3 separate regions of the Homo sapiens genome follow, and all the other regions are linked to region 2. Evidence: promoter capture Hi-C in human tissues and cell types (Jung and others, 2019). All regions are on one chromosome and are shown on one strand. Each heading gives the region's core, a stretch centred on a gene start or on the middle of the fragment in contact. The rest is flanking DNA. Distances are from core to core; before and after follow the strand shown.

Region 1 (4,319 bases), core at 885-3,384, 170 kb after region 2:
TTTTGCGTATTTTATAGTGAGGAAACAAAAACAAACCCAGGTCTAGGGTGCTCTGCTTCCCCTCTGGACTGCCCCCTCTCCTGCCTTAGGAGGGCCTTCGTCAGCCCCTCAGCTAAAGTAGTCCCCTGCACCACCCTGCTACCATCACTCTATCCTGTTTCCCGGTTCTGATTTCATTACAGCACTTTGCCAGCCAGAATCCCTTTGTTCACTTAATTACCTGTTTATGGTAGATCTTCTCTACCAAGACCTGAGCTGCAGAGGGGCAGCCACCTTTCTGTTCAGGTCACCACGGAGTGTCCAGTTCGTAAGGTGGTGCCTGGAACACAGGAAATACTCATCATCTTTTTTCAAATGAACACATGCATATTTTCTTTGACAAAGCCTTTGGTAATAGCACTCCTTTCCAAAGAGTCAGCATGGATGAAGTGCTTGAGAGACTTGGGTCTTCTCCAGAAGAGGAAATAATGCTGTGTCAGACACCTGCTGAGGGAGGGGGCTGGGGTGTGGGCCCAGCAGTGGAAAGAGCCCTTCTGCCAGGCCCAGAACAGGCCATGGGGCCTGGGGCACATATCTTCAAGCCTGCGGGCCAAGAAGCTGGGAAAAGTCACAGAGAGGCTAGGATGCCTAGCAAAGAGAGGCTAGGATTCCTGTCCTGGAGCAGCCCACTCCCACCCCCCACAGTTTGCGATAGAGATGCAGTTTTCGTAGTAGCTGTTAGCCTGTTGTGATAGCACCTTTCTTTTTTCTTTAGTTGAGTTGACAGGTTTCGACAGACTCACAATCAAAACAACAGAAGCAAACAGAGACAAGCAGAGGGATGACAGAAGTGTCTGTCAGCTCATCAAGCTCTCAGGGCAGGGTTTCTAATTTAAAGCAACACCAGGAAACACTGAATAGTGGGATTACTATATTGGATTAAAGGCTAAAAGAATCAAATGCCAGAAGTGGCAAGCTCAGTTTGTGATACCTTTCCTCACTCGAGTGTTAGCCATTTGGTGTGGCCCTTTGCCTGGCAGAGGCGCTACCTTAAGTCACTTCATCAGATGTTTATTGAATGGCTGCTCTGTCCCAGCTCTGTGTCAGCCGCAGGGGATACAGCTGTGAATGAGGCAGAGCCGGCTTCCCTGTCGCTGAAAATCAAGACCCTAAACAAGGATGGTATTTCATCACCTCGAAGGCACCATTGTTTTAGGCACTCCCTAAGAAACAAAGAAAAATAATAATTATGTGGTAACACAAATCTCTCTTATCGTTCAGGATTTTTGTCTTATGCTTATTGAAAGAACTCTTTTAGATTTAATTAAATATAAATTTTACATATTTTTGTGAATATATAAAAAGGAAAATAGGTGAAGAAAAATAAATTGGTTAAGATATCCCTAAAATTTTTTTACAGTCAGAGCCTTCCTCTTCTAAATCTTTTTATTTTTAGAATATTTCTACACAAGCTATTGTCCTCTATGCTATCAAGAGTGTGAGCCATGCAGCATTTCTCAGAAGAATCCACACAAAAACTAAAAGCCATCAGTGCTGGGTTTGTGCACTGGCTTTTGACTCCCACTTTGGGAATGTTGCTAAGTGACCCCCTGAGTCACTGTCCCCGCCATCAGTCCCATACCCTGGGGGTCAAGGTGCTCTACTCTTGTCTCTGAGATTTTCTTCCTCCTGCTGGCACCTATGACACACGTTTTGATGCTGGTGTGTCTGACCTTGCCACATGCATAGGCAGTGATAACTACACAACTGTTTTTCCAGTGGTCATTGAAACACCCCGACTTGGCCAGGCGCAGTGGCTCACGCCTCTAATCCCAACACTTTGGGAGGCCGAGGCAGGCGGATCATTTGAGGTCAGGAGTTCGAACGAAGCTCCAGGCTGAGACCTAATGCACGGGAAGGGGCAAGGCAGGAGGGAAAGGTGGAAGGGTGTCCTGGAGAAGAGAACAGTCTCTGCAAAGTCCCAGAGTTGGGAGAAAAAGTACAAGGTTTGCAATCTTCTTGGTCAGTTCATAAAGTAGGCTTTTTGGTAGTGGTGAAGTATGGAGGATCTGTTAGCCACAAAAATGTTAGTGGTTCCATTGGGCTTTGCCAACATCCGCACCATAGCTAACTGTCTCGTAGAAGCTGCTGGAGGAATTAATGATGCAGTGGGCATGTTAATATACCTAAATTAAAATATTCATTGCAGCCTGGGTGTGGTGGCTCACACCTGTAATCCCAGCACTTTGGGAGGCCGAGGCAGACAGATCACCTGAGGTCAGGAGTTTGAGACCATCCTGGCCAACATGGTGAAACCCCATCTCTACCAAAAATGCAAAAATATTAGCCGGGTATGGTGGCGCACGCCTCTAGTCCCAGCTACTCGGGAGGCTGAGGCAGGAGAATTGCTTGAACCCAGGAGGCAGAGGTTGCAGCGAGCTGAGATCATGCCACTGCACTCCAGCCTGGGCAACAGATTGAGACTGACACACACACACACACACACACACACACACACACACACACACACACACACACACACACACTGCATCATTAATTCCTCCAGCAGTTTTTTTCATCTGGGTCTTAAGTTGAAGGGATTTTATAGACCTAGCGTTTTTTTTTAAGTTTTTGAGATGTTTGTTACTACACAAATATGAATAGGGAAACATTAATATAATTAAATCTGAAAGTTATTTGAAACAACTAAATTCACCCATGCGCCCACCATTCCACAGTTTCTACAATGTTATATTTTGGCCCTTGTTTAAGAATATGTGTAAAGTTTGCAGGGCTGTTACCCTACTGACAATAATAGATTCTGCTTTGTTGCTTATTTTTCTATTACAAAATTTAATATTTGGTAATGTCCCTGTTGCTATAAAAGCTTCATAATTGCACATAATATGTACAATCATCTAAGTGGATATTTTTAAATTTATGTGACCACTCACTTTTAAACATGTAGGTTTGCTTTTGAGCTTTTAGCTACTATAAATGATATTACATTGAACATTTTCAGGGGTTGGCAAACTACAGCCCACAGACCAAATCTGGCCTGCCACCTGTTTTTGTAAATAAAGTTGTATTGGAACACAGCCAAACCCATTCATTCATGTATTACATATGGTCACTTTCACACTAGCACTGCAGAGTGGAGTTGCAATAAAGATTGTGTGGCCCGCAAAGCCTAAAATATGTCCTATTTGGTCATTTACCAAAAAGAAATGGCCAATCGCTGTTTTACGGTATGCAGTAGAGTTTTCTTTTGACTTAGATTATTTTCCTTAAGATAAATTCTGAGAGATGGATATTTATTCACAGGATATATAACTTAGTTTGTTGATTTCAAAATAACCTCTATTTGTAACATGATTATGACCTTAAAGACAGTGACATATCAGAACAAATGAATTAGCTGATTCATTGATACATTCATTTATTAACTGTTATAAGATTAGAGTGATTAGAAGATATTATTAACACACCTTTGGTCCATTTCATTTGTACTCAGAGGTAACTAATCTTCATCTCCATTATAACTCCTCTAATAGCACCCAGTTCTTTTCATTCACAGTGTTTCTCATAGTTTTAGATTTTTTTATTAGTGCAACACTAGCTGCTGTAACAAATAACTCTCAAATGTTACTGGTTTGACACGATAGCTTTCTCCCTCAGCCATTTAGGAACCCCAGCATGGGGGTTCCTGGTCAGTAGGCAGCTTTTTTCCTATGTGGCTATTCAAGTTTGGGCCAAGATTTTTCTATTCTTTTTAAACTACTTTTTTGGGGAAAGAGCCCACTTAAACAGTTGCAGTGGCCATACTGGTGTGTGCCCAAATATCCCCTTTATTGCTGAGGCATTCATCCGCCGCAGGTTCCAAGAATGTGGCCTGCTGAGTCCCTCCCCACAAATTGATGTCCACCAAAGGGACTCGCCTCACCCAAGATGATGCCTAACCTCTCCCTGGGGGCAGCCTGTATCCAGTGGTCAGTGGAGAGTCAGGAAGGCCTGGTCTGCTTGCTTCAACAGAGAAAACTCTGAAGAGCGGTCCTAGCTTCAGTGCTCCTCGGAGTATCAGCCAAGGCCTTTGTTATGACTGCTCAAATCCTCCCTCCACCTGGTCCTGTCTTGCTTACTCTCCCACTGTAATCTCTTGGAGAGCACTCCCCAGTTAACTTTTTGCATGCAAATCTCTTTCTCAGAGTCTATTTCCAGGGAATTCCACCACCCCAGGACCAAATGACCAAGCTACATTTTCTTGGTTCAGTTTTCATTCTCCACGTTCCACTGACGTTGAAAATTTGCACCTTCTTTACCGCTGTATTTCAGCACTGCGT
Region 2 (4,431 bases), core at 1,649-4,148:
GGTCACACTTACAGTGATATATACAAAGTGTATCTGGGGCTGAAACAGTATGCATTCTAAAGTGGTTGAGAAAAGGGATCAGAAGAGATAGGCTGAATATCTTATATAGGCCCTTATGCTGTGCACAGTGGTACCTTAGTCTGGGGTTTCAGGACAATAATTCTTGCAGGAAGACGGAAGGTGGACTGGATAAGGGTGTTATTGGAAGAATGGGCACCAATCAGTAGAGTTTCAGGTGGAAGATAATCACCCAAATGTAGGCAGCAGTTGGAAAGGGGCAGCTAGTTTTCAAGCAACCAGTGTATAATTTTTTCTCTGTGATTCTGAAATCCCAAAAGCTGAAACCAAAATTTTTTTTCCTGAGCTTGCAGAAAACATATTTGGTAGAAAAACATAACCTAAACAGATGTGAAGCTATTTATTGTCTTTGTCTTTATCTCACCTAGATTAAAAGACAGCCACAATTCTTTACTGCTCCTCCCATCCACAGGTGGTATCTGTTTCCCCTCTGCGTGACTCTGGCTGGCCTTGTCATTCATTGGCTTAGACCAATAGAATGTGGTGGAAATGAGTCCGTGTAACCTTCAGGGCTGGGCCTTAAGAGATCTGCTTCTGCATTTGCCCCTCTTAGAAAGTCTCTTCCAGTAGCCAGCTGCCAGGTAGAAGTCCAACCACCATGAGCTTATCATACTGTTAGAAAGCCCAAGTTGAAAGGGCACTGAAATGCTCAAATGGGAATGAAGACTTTTTGGACTTTCTGGCCCTGCCAAGTCACCAACTGAAAGCAGCTGAGTAAATGACTCCAATCACACCATGCAAAGCAGAAGAACCTGCCAGCCAAGCCCTTCCCAAATTCCTGACACAACAGATTTCTGAGCAAATAAAATGGTGATTTTAAGCCACTAATATTTTGTGAACATTTATTACATTGCAGTAGATAATCCAAGCATACACTTATGTCATTCATGATTTCCCTTGCAGAAAATTAGTATATTAGAGTGTCACCCCAGACCTTACCAAAGGTATTATGTAATATATGGTACATGCACATTTTACCTTTCTAAATTGAAAAACAAAATCTGAATTTAGAAATTCATCTGACCCCAGGAATTTTAAGAGAGGATTGTCCTTTGTTAATATTATGGAAATAAAGTTGTCTAGACTCCGTCTTTTACGTTCACTAAATGTCATGCATAATGCTTGAGTCTCCTCCAGCCATTTCATGTATGTATCTCTTATTTCCCCAAACTCATTAACAGTTTCTCTAAAGCAGCAGCTAACTTCAGCATGCATCAGTGTCTTTTGGAGGGCTTGTTCAAACACAGCTTCCTGGCTCCACCCTCAGAGTTTCTGATTCAGAGGGTCTGGGGGTGGGGCTTGAGACCTTGCATTTTTGATAAGTTCCCAGGGAACTTACCTGCTGTTGGTCCAAGGACCACTTTGAGAACTACTGCTCCAGGGAGAAGTGCTATATTTTAAATTTTAAGAATTTACCCACCAGCCCAAGGTGCTTACCAAATGCACATGGATGGAATCTCTCCAAATCTACATCTTTGCCATGCTTTTGAAGCCTTAACTTTTACTCCTGGAGGTCTTCCTGGCTAGGCCCTAGACTTAAAAGACACTAATTCCTTGTTTTATTTTATTAGATTGTCGTTTTTGCTTTCTTCTCAGCACACTTGATAAGACACTGTGAAGAAAATGTCCCTTCTGATCTCGTTTTTAACCTGTCTTGGAACAGATCAGCAGAAATGCCTTCACTGTGAATCAAAGATACCCTCGATTTATAGCCAAAGATTATTTCCTTTTCTTTTGGTGGCTTCCAGATAAAATGTTTCTTGCTACCCTTTCACAAAATAGAAGGAGGGACCAAGCGGAAGATAATCTTTTTGTTCAGAGGTCCATCTGTCAAAGCCTGCATTTTAGAGATGGCATTACTGAGGTCCAAAAACTAGAGCCACTCGCTCTGGGTCATACAGCCGATAAACGCACGCAGCCGAGCTCAGTTCTTCCCTGACCCTGTTACAAACTGCCTCACTAAATGAGGACCCCCATCCCCTTCCCATGCCAGGAAAGCACAGCTCATTTGTCCTAAAGTTAACATTACACAAATCACACCCTTCAAGCCTTCTTGAAACATTTTTTTTCCCCGAGGGTGACGGGACGGTTACGCTGATTCATCCTGGCCAGGGACCCCAAACATCTCCCCTCCTCCGGCCCAGGCGCCGTCACCCAGGCTCCACCGGTCCGCGGGACAGAGCCGCGGAGAGCGCCTGGAAGCGTCGCGCCCTCAAAGCCAAGCGATTAAGTTGGTTCCTCAAATTGTTCCCGACAGGAGGGGCAGGAAATAACACCGGGCTCTGGCGGCGGCCGCAGCAGGAGGGGGAGAAGAGCGGGCCGTCTCCCGGGCAGTGCTGGCGGCCTCTCATCGATCTCGGGTCTAAGGTCCGGCCGGGTCATCATTCCTGCCATTTCCACAGCATTCGAGGTACCACATCACCCCCTGCCTCGGTCGTCGCTCAGTCATTCCCTCCGCGCCGAGTCCTGGAGCGGCGGAGTCCCTGGAGGCCTGGGTTTCCTTAAGGGGCCCCAATGCCCGCAGCCCCCGACCCGCCCAGGTGGAAGGAAACAGGCTGCGGGCCTGGGCCAGGCGGGGCCTGACAGAAGTAAAGGCCGGGAGGGGGAGCGGAAGACGGCCAGAAGGACCCCTGCGCCCTCTCCTCCGCGCCGCCCGCCAGGCTGCCAACCCAGCCACCCTGGGTGCGACGCGGCGCCTTCTCCGCCGCTGGGAGTCGGGCAACAGGTGAAGAGGGCGGGCGTCCGCGGCGCCTCCGCGGGGCGGTCCCTCTCCTGCCCGCCTCCCGCCCGCCCCTCTCCCCGCCCCCTCCCCTCCTCCGGGCCTCCACCGCCTTCCCCGGCTGCCCGGCAGCCTCCCCTCGCTCGCTCTCCTCTTCCTCTAGGGCCCCAGCGCAGCTCGGGAGCCCGCGCACCGAGGCGCTAGGGGCACCGCGCACTAGAGGGACACCCGCCGCGCCTGGACAGCCCCCGGCGGGCGCCCCCCTCGCACCTCCTGCCCCGCGCGGGCCGCGCTCCCCTCCCCCGCGCCTGTGTCCCCAGGGCGCAGGGCCGCGCGTCCAGCCCCAGACCCGCCGGGGTCCCTGGGGACGCGCCAGCCCGGCAGTGGCTCGACGATGGAGGAGCCGCAGCGCGCCCGCTCGCACACAGTCACCACCACCGCCAGCTCCTTCGCAGAGAACTTCTCCACCAGCAGCAGCAGCTTCGCCTACGACCGGGAGTTCCTCCGCACCCTGCCCGGCTTCCTCATCGTGGCCGAGATCGTGAGTGCCGACGGGCCGGGGGTGGCGGGGGGCTCAGCTGGACCCCGGCGCGTGCTTCCGCCGTGCTTCTCGGGATGGAGCCTGCTCAGATCTTCCCGCGGGCTTTAGGGAACCGTTTTTGCTCAGCCTCGCCTTCTTCCCAAAGTGAAAGACTCTAAACAAGGTCCAGGAAACTCGGGCTGTCCTGGGAAGAAAGGGTTGTGATCCTCAGGATGTCTTGCTGTGGGAGAAATTCAGCTTGTTGGGTCCTCTCGGTGGCGGCGGCAGATCCTGGGAGCAGGAAGCTTGGCTTAGTGGCTATTGAGTTTGTGTTGAGTGTCAGAGACACCTGGTGCCTTTCTCACCTGATCTCCACGTGGATGGCCTCCTCCCTGAAAATAAAGCTTCCTAAGATCAGGGGAAGAGGAAAGGGCTTCTTTCTTTTCCTAATTATCTCCCTGGTAGTAACATTGAGGTGAGTCAGGAAAATTTTACTGAATAAAATCTGAGTGCCATAACCTATTTTAGGACCAAAGAGGTCTTTTGCATGGTGCTGTGCACATCCTGGTTTAGGCTCAGAACATTCCTGGGAAGGAGGCAGGGCATGGGCGTTCTTCTCTTCATTGGAGGGCATAGAGGCTGAAAACTCACGTGATCTTCCCAGAAGTCCCAGCCAGTCCTTCATAGCTGAGAAAGGACTGGAGTCCTGTCAGCAGTTAGAGGTGGTCACTGTTTGAGTCTTCTTCGTGTACCAGGATCTTGTCAAGCCCTTTAGATGTCCTCATACCCTCGTGTAATCCAACGACCACCCTCCCCTGTGAAGGCCTAGAGAGGGGACGTAAATCACACCGGTGGATGGTGAAGCATGGATTCAAACCCAGGCCTGCCTTTCTGCAGGGCCGTGCTCATAACTGCAAGCAGTTGAGACAGCTTCCAGCTGCCCCAGCAGTGCCCCTCTGTCATCTCTCACAGACTTTTGTTAAATATTTGGGAATTGAAAATGAGCCTATGTGGGAGTTAGAGAATGGGCACACCATCATGGTGCAGAAGTGACTGAAGACCTGGGCGGTTCCTTTGAGAAACCTGAAGTAAATCTTGTGTACCTCAAGTAGCT
Region 3 (4,327 bases), core at 680-3,179, 210 kb after region 2:
TGTGTCTTAAAAAAAGAAAAAGAGAAAAAGAAAAGCTCTCTCTGTATGTGACATTCATTGTCTTTCACTTACGTATATTACCAAAATTTTCCAGACTTTGGCCTGGGAGTGGGTTGGCTCCTGGAATTCCACTGAGGGATGGAGTCTCTCCTCTGAAGGTCAGCATGGGGGCAGAAGGTCACTGTAGAGGGTGGCCAAACCTCCCAACACTGATGCTCCACATGGCCCTCCCACAGCCCACCATCACACCTCTCTGCCCCCTCTCTCTGCTGTCTCTGAAGAGAGGGATGGTTGCCCCCTGAAGCTTAACACCTGCCCAGCTACAGTGCAGGGTACTGGAAGAGGCACACAGGAGACCTGTGCCCACTGTGTTTCCGGGCCCACTTGAGGAGATTCCCACTGTGTTTAGTAATTCAGGTTGCACATAACTGTTTAGCCCTGGAATCTCTATAGCTAACATTCATCATATGCTGTCTGTGTGCCTAGGACCAAACCTGGGCTATGAGGAAGTTAGAAGAAATTTTTAAAATATGGTCCCTGCTTATAAGAAAGTGGTCATCTAGCTTAGGAGACAAGACACATGAAACAATTAGTAAACAAGGCGTTGTAGTCTAGAATAGCATTCTGTAGCGATATAATAAACTGTTCAATTATGCAGTGCAGACAGTTGGGGACCGGGATGGTATATAACGTGCTAATTGTGCAGAACAGACAATGAGAGGCCGGGACAGGCTCTAATAGGCTAATTATGTGCTGTAGACAATTGGTACAAAAGGAGCCCAGGAAAAGAAACCCGGGGAAGAAGTGGATGTGGGCTGGTGGGGGCAGCTGTTTATGTAAAGCAGCATCTGGGCTTGAAAAGAAAACCAAACCTTGTTGAAAATCCTACCCTTAGCTGCCCCTGCGCCATTCTCACTGGACACCAGTGGCGGTGTAGTGAAGTGGAGGCCTTTGTGTGGGTCTGAGAACACCTAGGCACCCGGTACTGCAGAGTGCGGACTCTGGAGCCAGGCTCCCTGGGCTCCCATCCCATATCTGGCCCTTGCTGGCTCTGTGGCCTTCGGCAAAACAGATGACCGCCTGTACCTCTGTTTCTTTAGCTGTGAAATGGAGGAGCAGGGTGGGTAATCCTAGCACCCACCCAGCAGAGTTGTGAGGGTTAAAGGAATCAATACACCCACAGGGCCTCACACCCTGGTAGGGATGTAGTAAAGTGGTCAGTAAGTTTTCACCACTGCAGCTGCCGGTGTTGTTCACAAGCAAGGAAAATGGCTGCAGGCTTCAAAGCCCAGAGATTCCAGAAGAAGCTACTGCCTCTTCCTCGACCATTTGATGAGCCTCCCACAGGCACTCTTCGTCTCCCAGCACCCGAATCTCATCTACAAGTGAGGGGGCTGGGCTAGGTCAGCCTTCCTCACACTTGAGCGCTGGATGACCCTGAGAAAGGGAAAGGGTGCTGCCTTGACTTAGTTGAGTCTAATATTGTTTAATATGTACAAACGTAAACCTAGATGTAAAGGCCTCGGCTTCTGGCTCTAATACGGCTATGAAGCCAGAATGGAACAGAAAGTCATTACAAATGAAATGCGAACAACGCCACTACACCACAAATCATGGGAACGTTCAGATTTTTTTAACCCAAATTAAAATTTCATCCTTTTCTTCTCTTTTGGTCCAGGATAATCAAAGTCCATTGGCTTAGCCCCAGCTTGCTTGTAAATGTAAACCCAGACCAGGCACTGAAGCTGCCAAGAGTGAAGACCGAGAGGCCTGGCTGCCAGCCCTGACCTGGCCCAACCTGGAGGACTGGGGCCAGTGGCTGGGCCTCGCGGGGCTTCCTCTCTGCACCTGATCCAGGATGAGGTGGTTGGGTTAGATGACTCTCCAAGCTCCTTTCTGGCCAGAGACATGAAGGGAACAAGCACAGAGATGAGAAGCAGACAGGATTGCCCGAGTAATTAGCCCTATGGCCTGTGAACTTCCTCTCCCCTCTCTCCACTGCAGATCTTTGGTTTCATGGCCACCTTCCTCTGCATGGCAAGCATATGGCTGTCCTATAAGATCTCGTGTGTAACCCAGTCCACAGGTGAGTTCTGGTTATCTGTGCACAGAGGATCTCTCAGGAACAGGGGGATGGCTTGTTCTTGACTTCAGCCATAGGGACAAACCCTGCTGTTGAGAAGGCTGTGTTCCAAGGGGACTTTAGAAGTAGTATTAGAGCACAGGGGCCAGCAAAGGGGAAGATGTGACCCCAGAATCTCCCCTCACATTCCCATCTCCACACATCCAAGGATGCCCTAACATTTCAGCCTCGGGTGGCCAAGCTTTTTTCTCTTTCTTGCTTCCTTTCTTTCTTTTTCTTTACTTTTCTTTTTTTTTTTTTGAGATTGGGTTTTGCCCTGTTGTCCAGGCTGGTGCAGTGGTACGATCAGAGCTCACTGCAGCCTCCGCCTCCCAGGCTCAAGTGATCCTCCAACCTCAGCCTCCTGAGTACCTGGGACTACAGGTGTGCACCACCATGCCTAATTTCAATTTTTTTTTTTTTTTTTTTTTTTTTTTTTTTTTTAGAGTTGGAGTCTCACCATGTTGCCCAGGCTGGTCTCAAACTCCTGGGCTCAAGCAGTCCTCCCACCTCAGCCTCTGAAAGTGCTGGGATTATAGACATGAACCACCGCACCCAGCCAGCTTTTTCTTAAGTTTCCTAATGACAAAAATAAAATGTAGGTTTTTAGAAAATACAGATAAAAAATATGTTTAATAGAAACCGTCTGAACCAGGGACAGTGGTGTGTACCCATAGTACCAGCTACTCAGGTGGCTGAGGCAAGAGGATCACCTGAGCCCAGGAGTTTGAGACCAATCTGAGCAACATAGTCAGACTCCGTCTCTTAAAAAATAAAATAAAATAAGAAAAAGCCATCTGTCATCACACTACCCAGAAGTAGCACTGAGTATCCTTTCGATATTTTCTCTCTGAAAATATATATATCTGTTGCTTTTATTAAAAGGATCAAACTTCATGTGCTGTTTCATAATATGTTTTTTCTCCTACTTAGCCACTGACCAAACATTTTCCCAACATCATTAGGAATTCTTAGCAACTCCGTGGGTTGCAGCATTAAGTCCATCGCATGACTGTGCAGTTTATTTAACTTGCCTCCTCTTTGAGGGCATTACTCATGGAATCCTACACTGAGCCCATGTAGTGTAGGATTCCACTAATAAGAATCGTCTAGAGCAGGCAGATTCATAGAGACACAAGGTAGACCCATGGCGGCCTGGGGCTGCTGGGAGAGGACTCAGGTGTGACTGCTAATGAGGATGAGGCTTCTTTTTGAGGTGATGAAAAGGCTCTAAAATTGTGGTTGCACAGTCCTGTGAATATACTGAAAAACACTTTAGATGGGAGAATTGTATGGTATGTGAATTATTAAAATATCCCAGTAAAGCTGTTTAAGAAAAAAAAGAATGATTTTTAAACGTAGAGAATATAGGGGAAAAGAGAAGTTAATAGGTGGTGTCTAACAGGATAAATCTATAAATATTGGTATAAATTGGTTTTTTGAATTATGGAAGAATCACCAAAAGAAATGGCTAAAAGGCTTGGGAGGTTGCTGCTGAGGAGTAAGACTGAGGTCGGGGGAGTGCGGATGGGAGTCACCTCTGCACTACCGAAGTTTTTTCCTTGTTTGGAAATGTATTTTTAAAAAATGGAATAATCTCAGTGCAAGTCGGCACTGGGTGGAGGACACAGGTGCCCCCCTGAGCAGAACTTGGAGTCAAACCTGTGGAGTGTGGCTTGTGGGTGGGCCACATCCCTGGCAAGCTGTCCTGACTGCCATTTCCTTCCCAAGATGCAGCCGTCTGATGAGGCCACAACCCCTAGGCCCCTCAGGAGCTTTGCAGAGAGGAGGACGTGTACTCCAGGCGAGGCCTCTGGACCTGTGTTCCTGTGCCAAAGTCCTGTCAGGCTGGTGGGCACCAGGAAAGGCCTGCACCCTCTTCCTGCTCTCCCAGGAAGCCAGCTCCCTGAGCTCCTGAGCCAGCCGGAAACTCTTCCTCCAGCCTTCCGGGGAGAACATCCCTCCCATTCTGGGAAAGGAAAGCAGCCTCCAGGGAAATGTTTTCTGCCTTCCTGCTTCTAGAACCACCTCAGGTACTGATGAACCCCACTTAGCACAGCTGAAGGGGTTTGTGAATACTCCCGCCTAAATCCCTTCTACTTCACTCCTCAGGGGAGTGAAGTGCCTTAAGAAACAAAGCCCTGTCCTAATTTATCTAGCTTGTCAGTCCGGTCTTAGAGATACCCTCTTTCCTGAAGTGAGGCG

The links. The method cuts DNA at HindIII sites, captures the fragments that hold promoters and counts their contacts. A contact is called where the count stands out against the background at its distance.
Region 1: a contact is called between a fragment that was not itself captured here and the fragment with the promoter of CMTM8 in region 2, in 1 of the 25 tissues and cell types used here (adrenal gland).
Region 3: a contact is called between a fragment that was not itself captured here and the fragment with the promoter of CMTM8 in region 2, in 1 of the 25 tissues and cell types used here (H1 embryonic stem cells).

What each region holds. Positions count from the first base shown.
Region 1 is chr3:32,410,016-32,414,334 of GRCh38, forward strand. All of the region lies in intron 1 of CMTM7 (CKLF like MARVEL transmembrane domain containing 7), which reads left to right. Among named protein-coding and RNA genes, the nearest start is that of CMTM7, 20 kb to the left of the region's middle. The HindIII fragment of the contact is 3,147 bases long and covers 562-3,708 here.
Region 2 is chr3:32,235,782-32,240,212 of GRCh38, forward strand. It overlaps CMTM8 (CKLF like MARVEL transmembrane domain containing 8), which reads left to right and starts at 2,899. Exons shown (of 4, transcript NM_178868.5): 1 at 2,899-3,338. The coding sequence starts at 3,192. RefSeq lists a silencer at 2,703-2,912. The HindIII fragment of the contact is 9,285 bases long and covers 1-4,431 here.
Region 3 is chr3:32,450,388-32,454,714 of GRCh38, forward strand. CMTM7 (CKLF like MARVEL transmembrane domain containing 7) reads left to right here. Exons shown (of 5, transcript NM_138410.4): 4 at 2,005-2,086; 5 at 3,854-4,327. The coding sequence ends at 3,867. Among named protein-coding and RNA genes, the nearest start is that of CMTM6, 50 kb to the right of the region's middle. RefSeq lists an enhancer at 3,343-3,843. The HindIII fragment of the contact is 6,848 bases long and covers 1-4,327 here.